Linked DNA regions of Homo sapiens: region 1 is linked to region 2. The links are contacts of gene promoters, found by promoter capture Hi-C in human tissues and cell types (Jung and others, 2019). All regions are on one chromosome and are shown on one strand. The core of a region is centred on a gene start or on the middle of the fragment in contact, and the rest is flanking DNA. Distances in the headings are between cores, read along the strand shown.

Region 1 (4,372 bases), core at 1,580-4,079, 710 kb after region 2:
TAATCTATGCTTCTGTGAAAACAGAATTTAGTTCTCAAATGCCACAATACATAAGTACCCTAATATGTTATAGTCCTTGACATTTAGAGGAGCCTTAAGAAGGAGGAGATGCTTTCATTCAATTATATGTTTTGTATAACGATTACTTCTATTTTGCTGATGGACAAACTGAGAGGAATCCACTTAGAAGAGTAGAAAAAAGTTTTAGAGGCACATGTAACTGGGGTTGGGTCACTGTGTGATTTCAGGCAAAGTAACCTCTCTAAACCTATTTCATTATCTGTACAACGGGACTGACAATATCTAACTTGTGGGGCTGTGATAATTAAATCATAGAATACTCGATAGTGCATAAGCTGTGCCTCGTTAGTCTGAGTAGGTTTCAGAAAAAGATATTAATATTGAAGGAAGTGACTGGTGCAAGTCTCCCCACCATCCTTATCCAAAAGCAGCCATCCCTAGTAAATGTTTGCACTAAAAATACAGGACACACTTATTTATGACTTTCCAAACAGCTTATTAAATAAATAAATAACACTGAGCTTTATTTAAAGGTTCCAGCCAGGTGCAGTGGCTCATGCCTATAAGAACATTTTGGGAGGCCAAGGCGGGAGAATCATTTGAGGCCAAGAATTCAACAGCAGCCTAGGCAACACAGCCAAACACTGTCTCTACAAAAAAACTTAAAAATTAGCTGGGTGTAGTGGCTCATACCTGCAGTCCCAGGAGGCTGAGGCAGGAGGAGTGCTTGAGCCCAAGAATATAGGTTGCAGTGAACTATGATTATGCCACTGCACTCCAATATGGGCAACAGAACAGGACCCTGTCTCAAAAACACAAAAATAAAAATAAAGGTTTCCTTACTATTAAGTGACATTTACTGTATTAATGTCAATACAGTAACAACACTCAAATTATCAGAAACTGTAAAAATTTCCAGTTTTTACTGGAAATAAAAACTGGGCCGGGCGCAGTGGCTCATTTCTATAATCCCAGCACTTCGGGAGGCTGAGGCGGGCGGATCACTTGAGATCAGGAGTTCGAAACACAGCCTGGCCAACATGGCAAAAACCTGTCTCTACTAAAAATACAAAAAGTAGCCGGGCATTGTGGCACACACCTGTAATTCCAGCTACTTGAGAGGCTGAGGCAGGAGAATCGTTTGAACTGGGGAAGCAGAGATTGCAGTGAGCCGAGATCGTGCCACTGCACTCCAGCCTGGGTGACTCTGTCTCAAAAAAACAAAACAAAACAAAACAAAAACAAAAACTGCAAGGGGGGTGAGGTGACTCATGCCTGTAATCCCAGCACTTTGGGAGGCCAAGGTGGGAGGATCACTTGAGCTTAGGAGTTTGAGACCAGCCTGGGCAATATAGTGAGACCCTGTTTCTACAAAAAATTTAAAAATTAGCAGGGCGTGGTGGCACACGCCCGTAGTTCCAGCTACTCAGGAGGTATAGGTGGGAAGACTGCTTGAGCCTAGGAGGTTGGAGGTGCACGGGGCCAAGACTGAGCCGCTGCACTTCAGACTGGGCGACAGAGAGAGAACCTGTCTCAAAAAAAAAAAAAAAAAAAAAATTCCCTCCTGAGTTTGAAGATAAAGCAAAGATTCTAGAAGCATTTAAGGAACATTAACCAAGCATCTCATTTGCTACGCACAGAAGGGTACTGTATTAAAATTATGATCTAACTAACCATTGCCTCACTGTAATCCTAAGCCTCTTTGAACCTTAGCCTTCTTAAATGTAAAATAGGAGTTTTTAAAAGATGATCTTTTGGGACTCTTCCATCACTGACATTCTTTTATTTGAGATGCAGAGATCTGTGCTCATTCAGGGTTGAGTGGAATGGGATTTAAAGCACTTATCAAGTACATAACTGAGTTCCAACTGTTTTCAACTTCACATCTGATTCCCAAGAATGAAGCAGAAAATGAAGATGTTTGCATATGGGCTTCCTAGATTGAGTATCTGACACAAGAAAAGCTTGCCAAGAGCCAAGTAGGCAGTGCGAAGGAGAAGTTGTCTTCCCCTGAATACGTCCTTTATCTCTCTGGGTTCAGGGAATACTGTGAAAAAATGGATCACTAAATCTTTTCCAAACCCTTTCCCTTTACTTTGTAGGCTGATCTCATATCCATGGTCCCTTAGATCCAAGGCTTTTAGGAGCTTGGGTACTCACAGCCCTGTTCCGAGACTCAGGAACTCGGAGTCTCAAAGCCCGGATCCCGTCCCCAAAGAAGCCCCAGTCTTCACTGCCCGCTTCTGTTCCCTTCCAAACTCAAGTTTTCTCTGTCTGCTTCTGCCCCTCAGGAACCTAAGTCTTCGCTGCCCCGTTTCTGAATCCTTAGGAGCCCGGGTCTTCACTGTCCCGCTTCTGCCTCTTAGGAGCCCAAGTCCTCACCGCTCCACTTTTACCTCTCCGGAGCCTGTGTCTTCACGCCCCGTTCCTTTCTGACCCTTTCCTCGTAGGAGTGCGGGTCCTCATAATCCTGCTCCTCTCAGACCACTTTCCCTCAGATGCCGGAGAACTCGCATCCGTCCCCGTTCCCTAAGTCCCGTCTTAGAGCCCGGGTCCCCACAGCCGCGTCTTCTCCGAGCCTGATCCTCTCAGTCAGTCCCTTCCCAAGAGCCTGAATCCTCACAGCCCCGTCTCGTCCACAACCTGGTCCTTCGAACACTGACCCACTGTAGGTCTGGGTCCTGACTCCCTCCTCCCGCTCTTGTTCCTCAACTGCCAGGGCCCAAGACTCACAGGCAGCAGCGTCTATCTCCCCATGATATGCAGAGACTGCCCCAGTGAAGCGTTCGTCTCAGCAGCCGGTCCGACTGCGCGGCCCTCCCCGACTACTTCCGGCACCGCTCCCCGCCTCCAACCCGGAAACGCGCGGCTCTTCCGGCCGGCGGGCGCGCGCCTCGCTTGCGCAGGCGCAGACTGCCCTCCGACACGTGGTGGCGATATTGAGCTGTGTGTAGGTACACCCTGCAGCTTGCGCTTTTAACTGCTTGTGGTTGAGTGGCAGCATGAGCGAGCTCTGCGTATTCCAACCCGGCGTTAAGAATCCTTCACTAGCTTTTCTTCCCGACGCTGCTTATTTATCTATCGGTAGCATGACGGGTAATTGACGCCCTCGGATGGCTTTGAGGTCGCCATTTTTGGTTGGTGCCTTTGTCTTGGTGTCAGGACTGGGATATCATCTGGGACACATTACCCCACAGGTATCCTGTTGGACCTCAACGAGGAAGTTGGCAACAGAGGAACCAGGAGATGAGAGAGATCGGTTGGTTGTGCCTGTGAACTGGCAATTCAGTAGTAACAATTGAGTGCTTACTGTTTGCCGGGAATTGTGCTAATCCGCTTACCTCCGTTACGCCATTTAATCATTTAGAGGAGACCTGTGAGAGATTAAGCAAAGTTCTAGCTAATAAGTGCAGAGCCTCAGCTTGAACTCAGAACTCACTACTAAGCCAAAGCCTGTCCTGTAGCATTCTCTAATGCTTTCAGTTTTTCGGCTGTCAGATGCTTGGTGAGAACTGCTGTTATGTGGCTCACGCCTGTAATCCCAGCACTTTGGGAGGCCGAGGAGGGTGGATCACGAGGTCAAGAGTTCAAGACCAGTCTGGCCAAGATGGTGAAACCCCGTCTCTACTAAAAATACAAAAAATTAGCCGGGCGTGGTGGCATGCGCCTGTAATCGCAGCTACTCCGGAGGCTGACGCAGAGAACTGCTTAAACCTGGAGGGGCGGAGGTTGCAGTGAGCCGAGATCGCGCCACTGCACTCCAGCCTGGGCGACAGAGCGAGACTCTGTCTCAAAAAAAAAAAAAAGAGAACAGCTGTTATTTTTTACTGTATGCTGGAATGTTAGGCATGCAAGTAAGACCCAATTCCAGCATCTGTAAGGTTCACAGTAAGATGGAGAAGAACCCACAAACACACCAAAAATTGTATAAAGAGCTGTGACAGGCCAGAGTGAGCCACATAGAAATTAGGAAGAGGTGCCCAGATTGGTGCGGCATCCTGCCCTGTCTTTATATCTTCCTAATCCTCATCCTACCACGTTCCCAGTCCACCCTCTACACTGCCACCCAATCCAAATTCTCAGATTCAAGTCCTCATGAACATTGGGCTCTAAGCTGTATTCCTAGCCTTATTTCCTTGCCACTGCTCTCCATTCTTTTTAGGGTCCGGCATACCACTTTTTGTTGTTGAATGCCTATACATCTTTTTTAAGACCCAGGTTGAATGTATATACGTTCATTTGACAAGTGTTTGAGTCTCATTGTGTGACAAGCCTTTTGCTATGTGCTGAGTACATAACTGGTGGCTAAGACGGATGATCTCTGTCCTTAGAAAGTTTGCAACCTAGAGTG
Region 2 (4,263 bases), core at 1,231-3,730:
AGCTCCTTCTGCCTGGGATACCCTCCTCCCCAGCTTTCTCCTTTTCCTGCTAACTCCTACTTGTAAATTAAGGTTAAGCTGGTGGGACAACCATATCTTACGTGCTTTGCCATGCAAAACAACAGGAAAGACCCAAGACCACCTGAGAAGTCTTCTTCCCCAAAAGTCAAACCTGAATGTCATCAAACCCTTGGCTGTAACTATCAGTTTACAGGAAATATGGGGGACAGAGGAATATGTTAAATGACACCACCAGAAAGGAATCAGCCAAATCCTCCAGAATGTGGGAAATTCACAGGACAAAGAACAAGGAAAAAATGGGGAGAGGGCAGGAGAGCTACAAATTAAGGGAGACTTAAGAGACACATCTACCAAATGCAATGTGTGGACCTTGTTTGGACCCTGATTTGAAAGAACCCGCTGTAAAAAAAAAAAAAAAAAAAAAGAGACATCAGGGAAATTTGGTGACATCAGGGAAACTGACCACATATCTGCCTGGTGGAAGTAAGGAATTACTGTTTTTCTTTTTCTTTCTTTTTTTTTTTGAGGTGGAGTCTCGCTCTGTCGCCCAGGCTAGAGTGCAGTGGCACTATCTCGGCTCACTGCAAGCTCCGCCTCCCGGGTTCAAGTGATTCTCCTGCCTCAGCCTCCCAAGTAGCTGGGATTACAGGTGTGAGCCACCACGCCTGGTGGAATTACTATTTTTTTTTTTAGATCTGATAATGTGTTAGAAAAAGAGAGTCCTAGCCGGGTGCAGTGGCTCACGCCTGTAATCCCAGCACTTTGGGAGGCCAAGTTGGGCAGATCACCTGAGGTTGGGAGTTTGAGACCAGCCTGACCAATATGGAGAAACCCCATCTCTACTAAAAATACAAAATTAGCCAGGTGTGGTGGCGCATGCCTGTAATACCAGCTACTCGGGAGGCAGAGACAGGATAATCACTTGAACCCGGGAGGCCGATTTTGCGGTGAGCCGAGATCCTGCCATTGCACTCCAGCCTGGGCAACAAGAGTGAAACTCCATCTCAAAAAAAAAAAAAAAAAGAAAGAAAGAAAAAGAGAATCCTTACCTTTTAGAGATAAATACTGTTTACGTTCAAGATGATATGATCACTGGAATTTAACATCATACAGTGAGGGCCAGGTATGATAGCTCACACCTGTCAGCCCAGTGCTTTGGGAGGCTGAGGTGGGAGGATCACTTGAAGCCAGGAGTTTGGGACCAGCCTGAGTAATGTAGTGAGATGCTGTTTCTAAAAAAAAAAAAAAAAAAAGCCAGGTGAGGTAGCGAGTGCCTATAGTTCCAGCTATTCCAGAGGTTGAAGCAGGAAGATAGGAAGATAGCTTGAGTCCAGGAGCTCGAGGCTGCAGTGAGCTATTATTATCTTGCCACTGCACTCTAGCCTGGGTGGCAGAGTGAGACAACCCCCTTCTTTTTTTTTTTTTTTTTTTTTTTTGAGACAGAGTCTTGCTCTATCACCCAGGCTGGAATGCAATGATGCAATCTTGGCTTACTGCAACTTCTACCTCCCAGGCTCAAGGGATCCTCCTGCCTCAGCCTCCCAAGTAGCTGGACTATAGACATGTATTACCATGCCCAGCTAATTTTTTTATTTTTTGTAGAGATGGTGTTTCACTATGTTGCTCAGGATGGCCTCAAACTCCTGGGCTCAAGCGATCCTCCTGCCTTAGCCTACCAAAGTGCTGGGATTACAGACATGAGCCACTGCACCCAGCCTGAGACACTTCTCTAAAAAAATACATAAATAAATAAAAGTTAAAATAATAAAAAATTTTAAAAGTTGTTTAAATAGGGCCGGGCGCGGTGGCTCATGCCTGTAATCCCAGCACTTTGGGAGGCCGAGACGGGTGGATCACAAGGTCAGGAGATCGAGACCATCCTGGCTAACACAGTGAAACCCCGTCTCTACTAAAAATACAAAAAAATAGCCGGGCGTGGTGGCGGGCGCCTGTAGTCCCAGCTACTCGGGAGGCTGAGGCAGGAGAATGGTGTGAATCCGGGAGGCAGAGCTTGCAGTGAGCTGAGATGGTGCCACTGCACTACAGCCTGGGTGACAGAATGAGACTCCGTCTCAAAAAAAAAAAAAAGTTGTTTAAATACATAAAATAATCAAAAGTGAGTATAGATGAAATAAGAGTGGCCATAAGTTCATAATTACTGAAGCTGGAGGAAGGTACTTGGGGGTTCATTACACCATTCTCTCTCCTGTTTCTGTTTGACTGTTTCCATAATACAATGTTAAGAAAGGATTAAACGTGTCACCCCCTCCTAGAAGCCCTCTCACATTCCTCAGTCTGAATTAGATCCCCCTTTCCGGGGCTTGCCAATACACCTGATGTGCTGACCGGCAATTCTGTTGTTTGCCCCTCCCTCTTGGGGGCAGGGGCTGCACTGGCAGGAGAGGTGTGGCTTCCACTTAAGGGTCCGGTATGCCTGCCTCCTCGGGCCAGCCCAGATCATACCCTGCTGGGCAAAGGAGGAAGAGCCAGAGGATCCAGACGCCTTGGAGGACTTGGAACACCTGTAACAGGACAAGGAGTTCTGCTCAGGCACGTGGCCACAGAAAACTACTTAGGAAGCCTGTGGTGAGAACAACAACAGTGCCTGAGAATCCCACGGCTCTGGGGAAGTGAGCCCCGAGGATGAGGCTGCTCGCCTGGCTGATTTTCCTGGCTAACTGGGGAGGTGCCAGGGCTGAACCAGGTACAGCACTGGGAATGTCTGCTATGCCTTTGTTTTGTACTGTGAACTCTGGGGCTGCGGGAAGCTGCTCGCAGCCAGCTTGAAGGTGCTTCTAAAGATAGCAAGGCAGGAGCTAGGCAGGGAGGCAGGTGGGGAGAGCTAGTGGGCCTTAGCAAGTGCTGTTTGAGGCTGAAGATTTTAAGTGGAGGCGCCAGCTGGCCAGGGAGGGACACCGACATTGCGAAGAGGTCTGGGTACGTGAGAGCTAGCTAATTAGTAGAGGTAGGAGGTGGCAGGAAAGATTCGTGGACTCATTCAACAAATGAGGTCCTTTCCTGTACCATACGTTATTCTAGGAGCCAGGGATATATCAGAGAAGAAAAGAAAGTCCCCGTCTCAATGAAGAATTCCTTCATCTGGGGAGAAAAAAACAAACCACACGAACAAGTAAAGTACGCAGCATTGGAGGAGATGATAAGTGTTATGGGGAAAATAAAGTAGAACAGGGAAGGCGGGTTGTGGGGAGGGGGTACTTACAAGACGTCCAGAGAAGAGCTGTCAAATCAGGTGACACTCAAGTGGAGCCTTGAGGCAGTGAGTGGGGGAGCCACATGGGTGTCCAGAACATTACAGGAAGAGAGGACAGTGCACGGGGTCTGAGGTGGACACACAGGAGATGTGCATGAGGAACAGCAAGGAAGCCCGCGTGGCTGAAGCAGGGTGGGCAGGACAAGTGGGGGTGAGGTTGGCAGATGGTGGGGTGGGGCAGGTGCCAAATCATGGATAGCCTCGAAGACTCTCTTGAGGACTCAGACATTTTTCTTTCCACGTGCCTGTAGATAGGAAGGACGCAGGCTTTTGCTCAGGGTGAAATGGGATGTCATTGGAGGGTTCTAGGCACAGGTGTAATCTATTCTGACTTCTGTATGTTTAAAAGGACCCTTGAGGCCAGACGCAGTGGCTAACATCTGTAATCCCAGCACTTTGGGAGGCTGAGGAGGGTGGATTGCTTGAGTCCAGGAGTTTGAGACCAGCCTGGGCAACATAGCAAAACCCTGACTCTACTAAAAATACCAAAAATTAGCTGGGTGTGGTAGTGGGTGCCTGTAGTGCCAGCTACTTGGGAGACTCAGCTGGGAGAATTACCTGAGCCTGGGAGGTTGAGGCTGCAGTGAGCTGTGATTGTGCCACTGCACCCCAGCCTGGGTGACGGGAATGAGACCATCTCAAAAAAAAAAAAGAAAATGAAAGAAAAAAATTCTCTTTATAGCCCCTCTGAAGTAGGTGCTAATATCATTATACCCATTTTGCAGATGAGGCAAATGAGTCTCAGAGGGGACATTGCACTTGCTGAAGATCTCCCAGCTGGGAAATGGCAGGACAAAGCCTGTGCCTGGCTGTACTATGCTTCATGTCCTCTTGGGATGGTGGGGTTTAGAGGTACTATTTTTTTCTCTTTTCTCCAAACTTGCTGGAATGTATTCCTTTTAAAGTAAATTTAAAAGGAATTCCGGGCCGGATGCGGTGGCTCACGCCTGTAATCCCAGCACTTTGGGAGG

The links. Contacts are between HindIII fragments. The study calls those that stand out against the background at their distance.
Region 1: a contact is called between the fragment with the promoter of TAF12 here and the fragment with the promoter of SMPDL3B in region 2, in 1 of the 25 tissues and cell types used here (heart right ventricle).

What each region holds. Positions count from the first base shown.
Region 1 is chr1:28,640,238-28,644,609 of GRCh38, forward strand. It overlaps TAF12 (TATA-box binding protein associated factor 12), which reads right to left and starts at 2,830. Exons shown (of 6, transcript NM_005644.4): 1 at 2,755-2,830. TAF12-DT (TAF12 divergent transcript) reads left to right here and starts at 3,019. Exons shown (of 2, transcript NR_146730.1): 1 at 3,019-3,526. The HindIII fragment of the contact is 16,599 bases long and covers 1-4,372 here.
Region 2 is chr1:27,932,520-27,936,782 of GRCh38, forward strand. SMPDL3B (sphingomyelin phosphodiesterase acid like 3B) reads left to right here and starts at 2,481. Exons shown (of 8, transcript NM_014474.4): 1 at 2,481-2,725. The coding sequence starts at 2,665. RefSeq lists an enhancer at 2,115-3,016 and a silencer at 2,343-2,608. The HindIII fragment of the contact is 15,081 bases long and covers 1-4,263 here.